Linked DNA regions of Homo sapiens: all the other regions are linked to region 1. The links are contacts of gene promoters, found by promoter capture Hi-C in blood cells and fetal thymus (Javierre and others, 2016). All regions are on one chromosome and are shown on one strand. Each heading gives the region's core, a stretch centred on a gene start or on the middle of the fragment in contact. The rest is flanking DNA. Distances are from core to core; before and after follow the strand shown.

Region 1 (2,827 bases), core at 269-2,768:
TTCATTTACTAAGTACCAACCAGGTATCCACAGTGTGCCGGGCACTGGGCATAGAGTGATGAGGAATGCAGATACAGCTCCTGCCTGTGGTGCCTCAGGGCTGGAGTCCCTCCCACACAGAGCCTGGGTTGTTCCTACTCCCTCTGCCTCTCTCTCTCTAGACCCTGAGATATCTGGGCTCAGGTATCTCTGATCTGCACGTGTTTCCTTTGGAGGTAGGGTCTGTTTGCCCTTTGCTGATGCCAAGGGCTTCCTCCTAAGTTCTTTCTACCTGCTCCCCCTTTTATCCAGGACTGAGCCATAGCTCCTTAGTCCCAGGAACCACCTTCTAATCCGTGTCCTCTGCTCACACAATTTTGGCTGGGTCTCTCCTAAAATCCAAGAGAGGCCTGGGCTCCCCAGGAACAACCTAATGGTTATAATCACTGTGTGTTTTGCATTTTAAATGTCTGCTTGGTTTAAATTAGTGAAGCCAAGAAGTCAAAATTCTAAGAAAAGTAAATAAAATTCTGACCGGTTTGGGAAAAGCAAATCCAAGCTCCTGCTGGGCTCCAGCTGGAGGTCGTGACCCCTAGGCTGCGAGGGTTGGGCTTTTGGCTCTTAACCTGAGGATGAGGCTCTGGGTTCTACCTGCTGCCTGGCTGACGGCTGGTTGAATGCTGTGTCAGCGACGAGCGACCCTGACTTCCCACACACCGGCCAGGCCAGGGACGGTGGCAGGAGCTTTTTCATATTCCACAGTTCAGCAGCCCCAAGCTGCTGGGGGCGGAGGACAGGTGGTGGGGGAGAGAGGATTCGGTCCCCAGGGGCCACCTGGCGCTGGTGGCATGGCGGGGAGCCAGGCTTGCCTTTGCCCTCTCTCTGTGCCGGAGCCCTGGACCCTGGCTGGCATCTCCTGAGAGCAAAGCGAAGCCCGCGAGTGATCTCTGGGGAACTTCCTAGAAAAAAGAAAGAATTTCAGGTTCGAACGGTGTAGGGAGGGCCGAACACGGGAGCAAGGTTGGCCAGGGCTGCCCTGAGCCCTGGAGAATCCCCAGAGCGATCGTCCACTACATGCCCACGTGCGTGCGTGTGCCAGGGAGCGAGAGCCCGGACAGCGGGAGTCGGAGGCAGGACCAGGAGCTGCAGAGGGGCCGCGGGCAGAGCCCCAGCGAGCGCGCTGCCCTGGCGCGGAGCCCAGGGGCCGCCCACTGGCGGGGGAGGCGGGGAGCGCGCAGGGAGGCGGCGGCGGCGGTGGGGCTTCCCCGGGCTTCCCCTCCCCGGTCCGCGGGTGCCCGGCGCGGGCCCAGGAGGCGGAGGCGGCTCCTGGGGAGAGGGATCCGGGAGTCCCTGAGGCGGCCCCGGCTCCGCACTAGGAGGCGGGGTCCGCAGTATCGCCAGCGGCCGGCGCGGCTTCCCGGAGCCCCGGAGCCCGAGGCGCGAGGTTTAGGCTGAGCCCTCCCCGGCGCCTGCCCCCGCCCGGCGCCCGCCTCCGCCCCCGCCCGCGGCCTGGAGCGCGCCTCCCTCGCCTCCCAGGGTCTGGCGAGCCGGCGCCGGCCGAGCTGCGGGAGCCGCGGAGAGCACCAGCTGACGCCGCGGGAGCTGCTCCGGCCGCACCATGCGGGAGCTGGCCATTGAGATCGGGGTGCGAGCCCTGCTCTTCGGAGTCTTCGTGTAAGTAGTGGCGCACCGCGGGCAGGGCGCACTGACGCGGGGGAACAACCGACCAAGCCTCTCTGTGCCCTAACTTAGTTTGCGCAGCCGCTTCCCACTGGGGCCTGGGTTCGAGGTCCCTTCCCCGCCAAGTGCCCGCAACGTGTCCTACGGGACCAAGAGAGACCCTTCCTCTCTCCTTCCTGGGACCCTAGGCGCGGAGCGACCACCGCGCGCCGAGGCTGAGACCTGCTCCCGGGTCTCACCGGGCCCGCGCCTGTCGCCAGCCCCGCACCACCTGCCCGGGGGATCCAGGGCTGCACCTCTAAACAGGGACGCGCACCCTGGCCCGTGCCCTCGGGAAGTTTCTCCTTCTGTGTGATCTTTGAGGCCCACGTTGGAAGTCTTTACCCCTGGCCCCGTCTCCGATTCCTCCCCGCTGTGCCCAGGGCCAGACTCCTTCCGTGTCCCTGGCTTTAGCGCCCGCGGTCCTGGCGAGCGTTTTCCCAGCGGGCGTTTGCGGCGCTTCTCCTACTGAGAAACTGTTGCTGTGGAGGCTTGAGAAGTCAAGGGGCTGCAGGCCGGGGTGGGATACACACACCCTGGAGCTCTGTGCCCGGTCGATGTCCGCTTTGGGGGCGGAGGCCCTCCAGGGGTAGCCGTGAAATGCCCAGGGTGGCTTTGAGCGGCTGGCACTGAGAACAGCGATCCCGAAAAGAAGAAGGGGTGGTGGCGCAGGTTCTTTCAGAGATGCCTGAGCCTCCTCCGTGCGCCCAGGGACCCACCGCTCATTGACTTCCAGGGCCCAAGCTGCAGGGAGCTGTCACATCTCTCTTTCAGACCTGAGCCCAGAACACCAGCTCAGAGCCACCCCGCAGCCTCCCGTGAGCTGCTGTCACCTAGGCACCCACACCTGCACTGGTCCCTCCATCAGTGAGCCAAATTCTCTCCCCCTCTCTGCCCATGGATGTTTTCTGCCACATTCTAAGTATTAAAGTTACATGAACTTTTTGGATTTGCCATGCATTTATTTATTTGTTTGTTTTTGTTTTCGTTTCTGGAAAAGCCCTCCCGAGCCAAACAGGAGGCCCTCTTTGAATTTCTGCCTCAATCTGGAGTCATCCATGGCAGGTGTGCTGTGTCAAAGATGACTTCTGTTCTGGGCAGCCCAGGGGATACACATGGAAAGAAATGC
Region 2 (2,886 bases), core at 147-2,646, 280 kb after region 1:
GTCCTGCTCCTTATTTGGAGAGGTTGGACAGTCTCAACTGGGATGCAGAAATAACATCCCTGTAGGCAGGACTCATGGGATCATGACAGGTGCCAAAGGGGTCCCCTCATATAAGCACCTTCCACTGAGGTAAAAGCAATGAGTGTGAAAACAGATTTAAAATCTAGTGCCTTGTTAAAAAGTCCTGTTTTAGACCATTACAAGACAGAAATCTCTGACTCCATTTTCCTCTCTCTAGAGTTCTGTATTACAAACTGCCCAGCATGGAAGCACATTTCTAATCTAAATGATCTCTACAGATTTTACCAAGGTGAGGAGCCCAATGTGGATCCTTTCATCCTAATGCAGTCTTCTGTGAACCATTCCTGATAGTTACCCATACTCTGCCTGAACATTTTCCATGTCATTCCGTCTTTCCTCATGGAAAGACACCTCCCTTCACCTCTTTTTATTTTAATCAGGCAGGGTATAACCTACATGAAGTAAGTTATACCATTCTTTTTGTTTGTTTTGTTTGTTTGTTTGTTTGTTTGTTTTGAGACAGAGTCTCGCTCTGTAGCCCAGGCTGGAGTGCAGTGGTGCAATCTTGGCTCACTGCAACCTCTGCCTGCTGGGTTCAAGCAATTCTCCTGCCTTAGCCTCCCAAGTAGCTGGGATTACAGGCACCTCCCACCATGCCTGGCTAACTTTTTGTATTTTTCGTAGAGACAGGGTTTGTTGGCCAGGCTGGTTTCAAATTCCTGACCTCAAGTGATCCGCCCGCCTCAGCCTCCCAAAGTGCTAGGATTACAGATGTGAGCCATCGTGCTTTCTTAAGTGTACAACTCAATGACTTTTAGCATGTGCATGATTCCGTGAACTGATGTTTGTCATCATATACATTCACTTCTCGTAGGCCTATACTTAGGAATGGGATAGCTGAGTAATAAGTAATGTTTAGCTTTAGTGTCAAACGTCAAACAATTTTCTACAGTGATCAGACCAAATTACACTCCCGTCAGCAATGTGTGCAAATGTTCCAGTTGGTCCACATCCTTGTCAGCATCTGATATTGTCTTTGTAAGCTTAACCATTCTGGTGGGTGTGTAGTTCTATCTGGTTGAGATTTTAATTTATTTTTCCTATTAAGTAATGCTATTGAGCATGTTTATATGCTTTTTAGCCATCTGATATCTTCTTTCATGAGATACTTGTGAAAGTCTTTGGCCCATTTTTAAATTTGGTGTTTTGTCCTTTTTTTATGATTCCTAGGAACTTTTATATACACTAAAAAATTTCCTATTAGCTAGGAAATATTATTTAAGGCCATACATGGTGGCTCATGCCTGTAATCCCAGAACTTTGGGAGGCTGAGATAGGAGGATAGCTTGATGCTGAGAATTTGAGATCAACCTGGGAAACATAGAACCAACTTTACAAAAAAATTTTTTAGAGAAAGAAGTATTATTTAAAATTGAAAGCTGCTATCATGTCTTGCTCCCTCTGCCCCAATTTGGAAATCAGATCATGTTTGTAAAGGCAAACCATCATGTTCAGGGGTGGAATGTGCCTCTTGCTGCCAGATACTAAATTATCTTGTTGGACTATAAATGAGAAGTTTGCCCTTTTGTGGGAAAGTAAGGGCACATGGTTTATATTAGTATTTCAACATAATATAAGACACTTACTTTACGTCATAGCCACTACCTCTTCCTGATGCTCTGGTCTAGATTCTGGCAGGTAGAAACGAAAGCTTAAGGGGAAAAATTACCATTTTTATAGTTAGCACTTATGGGCCAAGAAGTTATTCAAGTTATTCATTTTAATATAACTGATTTTTAAGGGCCTATAGTAATAATGGTCATTGATCACCTTCTCTGTGCCAGACTCCTGGCTAGGCATATTGTGAACTTTATCCCATTTAATTTTCACAAAAGTCCTACAAGGTAAAGATGAGGAAACAGACCCACAGAGAAGTTAGAAATGTGTCCAAGGTCATAAGCTAATAAAGGAAGAGCCAGGATTCAAACCCATGTTCAAAGTCCATGTCTCCCAAAGAAAAAATTACACTTTTACATCATTGTGAAGGTTGTAAGTTTTCTGTAGATGAGAAAGAAGTTTAAAAATTATCCCCATTCTGTTTTTATCTTGTTCTATGAACTTCCCTTTCCAACAAAGCAGCTTGGAGTTTGTGTGCCACAGTTGGCACTTAGGACTCTCATGAATTTCCAAGTCGATTCTGAGGGCAATGGCGCCGTGTGCAAATGTTTGTTTAAAGACATGCTGTGCGGTGGCAGGACCCAGCCTGCTCAGGCAGCAGGGGGAATCAGCACGGAGGCAGTGATCACACCAGGTATCAGCTCCTGAGTGAGCCTGCCTGTCTGTCCCTCCCTTCAGGGGCTGTGCATAAAGGCATTTCTCTCCAGCAAACATGCACATCATCCTGTCATTTTGAGCTAGAATCTTCCTCCCAACTTGTTATCATTATCAAAAAGCAAGTTCTGTACCTTCAGACTCTTTCCCTAAGGGAAATGAGACTCAAAGAAGGGTTACTGATATCAAAATTTGGGGCTCTCATTAAACTATGGTTCCCTCTGTCTTCCGCAGTAGAGAAGAATTCGTTCAGAGCAGTAATGCACAGGGTAGAAATGGAAGGTCTCAATAATGGTATTCAAATGACTGATGGGGAAATTTCAAAATATTTCCAACGTTTCTCTTAAGATTGAACCTGATTTTTCACTACAGGGGAATATACATGCTGAGTCCAGGTTATGCTCATGAAAAGTTACCCAGAGCAATCTGTGTCTTGTCCACAGTGCACAGATCTCTTTAACCTGATGGGATGTGAAAATCATGACAATTGAAATAGCATCACAACTTTCTCATGTTGATGAATAGATGGCCCAG
Region 3 (3,104 bases), core at 331-2,830, 410 kb after region 1:
GATGCCAACCCATGTTGGTCACTTCAGGGAATAGTTGTACATTTTTATTGTCAATTTTTATGTGTAAAGTACAAAATTAAATCTTTTATTAGGTCTGATATAAATGAAGTCTTTGACCCAAGTGAATGTTTACTTTTTTCAGTGCTGAATTCATAACTCTCAATGATTGCCTTCAGTTGGCATACCTGCCTTCAAAAAGGAATCACATGTTGTTGCTCTATCCTCGAGAGATTTTAATCCTTGACCTTGAGGTGAATCAGACGGTGGGTGTGATTGCAATAGAACGCACAGGAGTTCCATTTTTACAGGTATCTACAATTCATAAATTATATTCCCCAAAATTATTAAGAATGTTATATTAAAAGAAGGCCATAATCTTGCATAAGTCTTGTCTTCAGTTCTCCACTTTCTCTTTTCAATTTATCAAAAGACTAGCAACACTATTTTAGATTGTTTTTTTTGTCTGCACTTTTGATTGGTTTGATTTACCCTAGAAATTGTGACTGATCCTGAGATATTTATTGAACTATTTAAGTCACATGGGTAAAGACAAATTATTTTAGGATTATAAATGGATATTTTAAATGTACATTTAGTTTTAAAGTTTGGGATTTGTCTATTTTTTTTTCTTTTGCCCATATTATCTAAATATGAGTTTGAGTTTCACAGTATATACTTTATTAATCTATTGTGTTTTAAAAAATAAATATATCATCTATTTAAAGGTAATACCCTGCTTTCAGCGTGATGGTTTATTTTGTCTACATGAAAATGGTTGTATAACTTTACGTGTTCGAAGATCTTATAATAACATTTTTACCACTTCAAATGAGGAACCAGGTGAGTTTCTGTCTCACAATAATGTTATATTTTTCTTCAAAATTATTTTATAAAGCTTGATGTGGCAAATACCAGCCAAGGTATATAGTTAATGATACTCCTTGCTTTGAGGAAGTTTAAAATATGGTTATAATAAGAGGCATAAAAAGTATAAGCCCAAGATTAATCTCTTGATGTTAAAACAGTGCACCTCCTGTATACATCAAAGAGAGTAAAATTTTGTGTTTCTTGATCATATCCATGAGCCAAGTAGATATTATTTTTTGGAATTTTTTTTTTTTTTCAGTACAAGTCCAACCTTGTGTGCCTTTATTATTATACCCCCTTGACTTGTTGGCTGTAAGAACTTCCATTGTAAAGTGACAGAGGTTATTAAGTCTCAGTTGTCAAGTCAGTCTTATCTTGGAGAATGGAAATAATGTTTTTGTGAAATTATATACTGTGTAAAGATCAAAGTGATTTTCACATCTTTTGGAAAGTACAGTTATTTTCAGGCTTATAGACTACTACAAATTATGATGGAAATTTATTCATTAATTATATATCACTGTTGATCCTTTTTCAAAGTATCGTCTTTATTTTAAAATATTGAAAAAAGATATCTTGATTATAGTTGTTATTTTGGAAATTAAACTTAGTACAGTCATTAAGTAAATTATATTTGGAAAAAATTTAGTAGTAATTGTAAAAAGTGAAGCCATGCTTGACATTGCATTCATGAAGGAGTGATGCCCAAATTTAGTTGAGGTTTTATTTAAATTGAAACAAACAGTAGTGGTATCGATATGGCTGCTTTCTGATATTTAAAACAATTTTATGTGAAGATCCAGATCCAGTTCAGGAGCTTACCTATGATTTACGAAGCCAGTGTGATGCAATCAGGGTGACAAAAACCGTCCGTCCCTTCAGTATGGTGTGCTGTCCTGTCAATGAGAATGCAGCCGCCCTCGTAGTGAGTGATGGCAGGGTCATGATATGGGAACTCAAGTCTGCAGTTTGTAATCGAAATTCACGGAACAGGTAAATGAATCAACAGGATCATGGTTTTGTTTTTTGTTTCCTGTTTCCTTTTATAAAAAATTTCCATAATCATAAAAATAGGAGGGCTGGTTTTCTATAAAAATATTTTTAAGGTAATAATTAAGGCTTTAGATTATTAGGGAATTATGTAAATCTGCTAGAGCTATTTCACCTATGGGTAAGATGAATGAATAATATAAAAATAGATAGAATGCCATAATCTGGACTTAATACTTTGAATTCCTAATACGTAATGCAGATTTTAAGTATGTAAAACCTTCTAATTATTATGTCTTTGCAGTAGTTCTGGTGTGTCACCTTTATATTCACCAGTGTCTTTCTGTGGAATTCCTGTAGGAGTGCTACAGAATAAACTCCCAGACCTTTCCTTAGATAACATGATTGGTAAGCTTTTTTCCCCTCTAACTCCATGTTAAGTATTCTTTCTGAAGGGCAAAATTAATAGAATCACTCACTTGTAATTATTTTAAAGTCAAAAAAGTTAATACTTGAGAAAACTAGAACATGGAATCATTCTTTCCTAAATAAATCAGAGGGGTTTAAAATACTTAGGTAGAAAAGTGCCTGAAGTAGCACGGGTTTGCATTATAGTTGTTAGAAATAGAAAACGTTCATTCGTGAGAGACTGATGTAAATGAAAGCAATGACATTAGGCATCTGGATTTTGGACCTAGAGCCGATGCTGAGCTATGCCATGCCAACTCAGGGCCTTGCTGTTTGCTGGTTCCTCAGCTTGGAATGAAGTACATGCTTCCTTTCTGTCTGCTACTCCTAATTCAAAATTCAACTCAGATGTTGTTTTCTTTAATCTCCCAAGTCTAATTTAAATGCTCTTCTTTTGTTTTTCCTAACAGTTATCAGCATATTTTAATTGTGGGTTTTTTTCTTCTGTTTCATCTCATCAATTGTAAGCATCACAAGGGTGGTACAGTGTTTGATTCTATTTTGTCTTTCCCAGCACTCAGCACAGTACCTTGTGCATGCCTGTTTTGTAGTAAATATTTACTGAAGGAATAAAGTAACTGAGCAGTATTAGAAAAGATTATTTTAACTTTTTGACATGAATTATTTTTATGTTGGGGATTCTTTCAAAAAATCATTTTTGGAGATAAAGTGTTCAAAGTTATTTAATTATGAGGCCAGTATGTATTAAAGGAAGAATGAGAGTTTGTGATTTCAAATTTTATGCTACTTGAAATTATAAGGCTTTGTAAATATGCCAA

What was found. Contacts are between HindIII fragments. The CHiCAGO score rates a contact against its expected background, and 5 or more counts as called.
Region 2: a fragment that was not itself captured here is called in contact with the fragment with the promoter of PLPP4 in region 1 in 4 of 17 cell types (endothelial precursors, M0 macrophages, M2 macrophages and 1 more); the score reaches 7.6 in endothelial precursors.
Region 3: a fragment that was not itself captured here is called in contact with the fragment with the promoter of PLPP4 in region 1 in 1 of 17 cell types (M0 macrophages); the score reaches 5.6 in M0 macrophages.

The regions. Positions count from the first base shown.
Region 1 is chr10:120,455,709-120,458,535 of GRCh38, forward strand. It overlaps PLPP4 (phospholipid phosphatase 4), which reads left to right and starts at 1,519. Exons shown (of 7, transcript NM_001030059.3): 1 at 1,519-1,653. The coding sequence starts at 1,598. The HindIII fragment of the contact is 6,130 bases long and covers 1-2,827 here.
Region 2 is chr10:120,739,331-120,742,216 of GRCh38, forward strand. All of the region lies in intron 2 of LINC02930 (long intergenic non-protein coding RNA 2930), which reads left to right. Among named protein-coding and RNA genes, the nearest start is that of WDR11-DT, 110 kb to the right of the region's middle. The HindIII fragment of the contact is 668 bases long and covers 1,063-1,730 here.
Region 3 is chr10:120,864,905-120,868,008 of GRCh38, forward strand. WDR11 (WD repeat domain 11) reads left to right here. Exons shown (of 29, transcript NM_018117.12): 6 at 143-308; 7 at 726-840; 8 at 1,665-1,860; 9 at 2,162-2,265. Among named protein-coding and RNA genes, the nearest start is that of WDR11, 15 kb to the left of the region's middle. The HindIII fragment of the contact is 1,375 bases long and covers 894-2,268 here.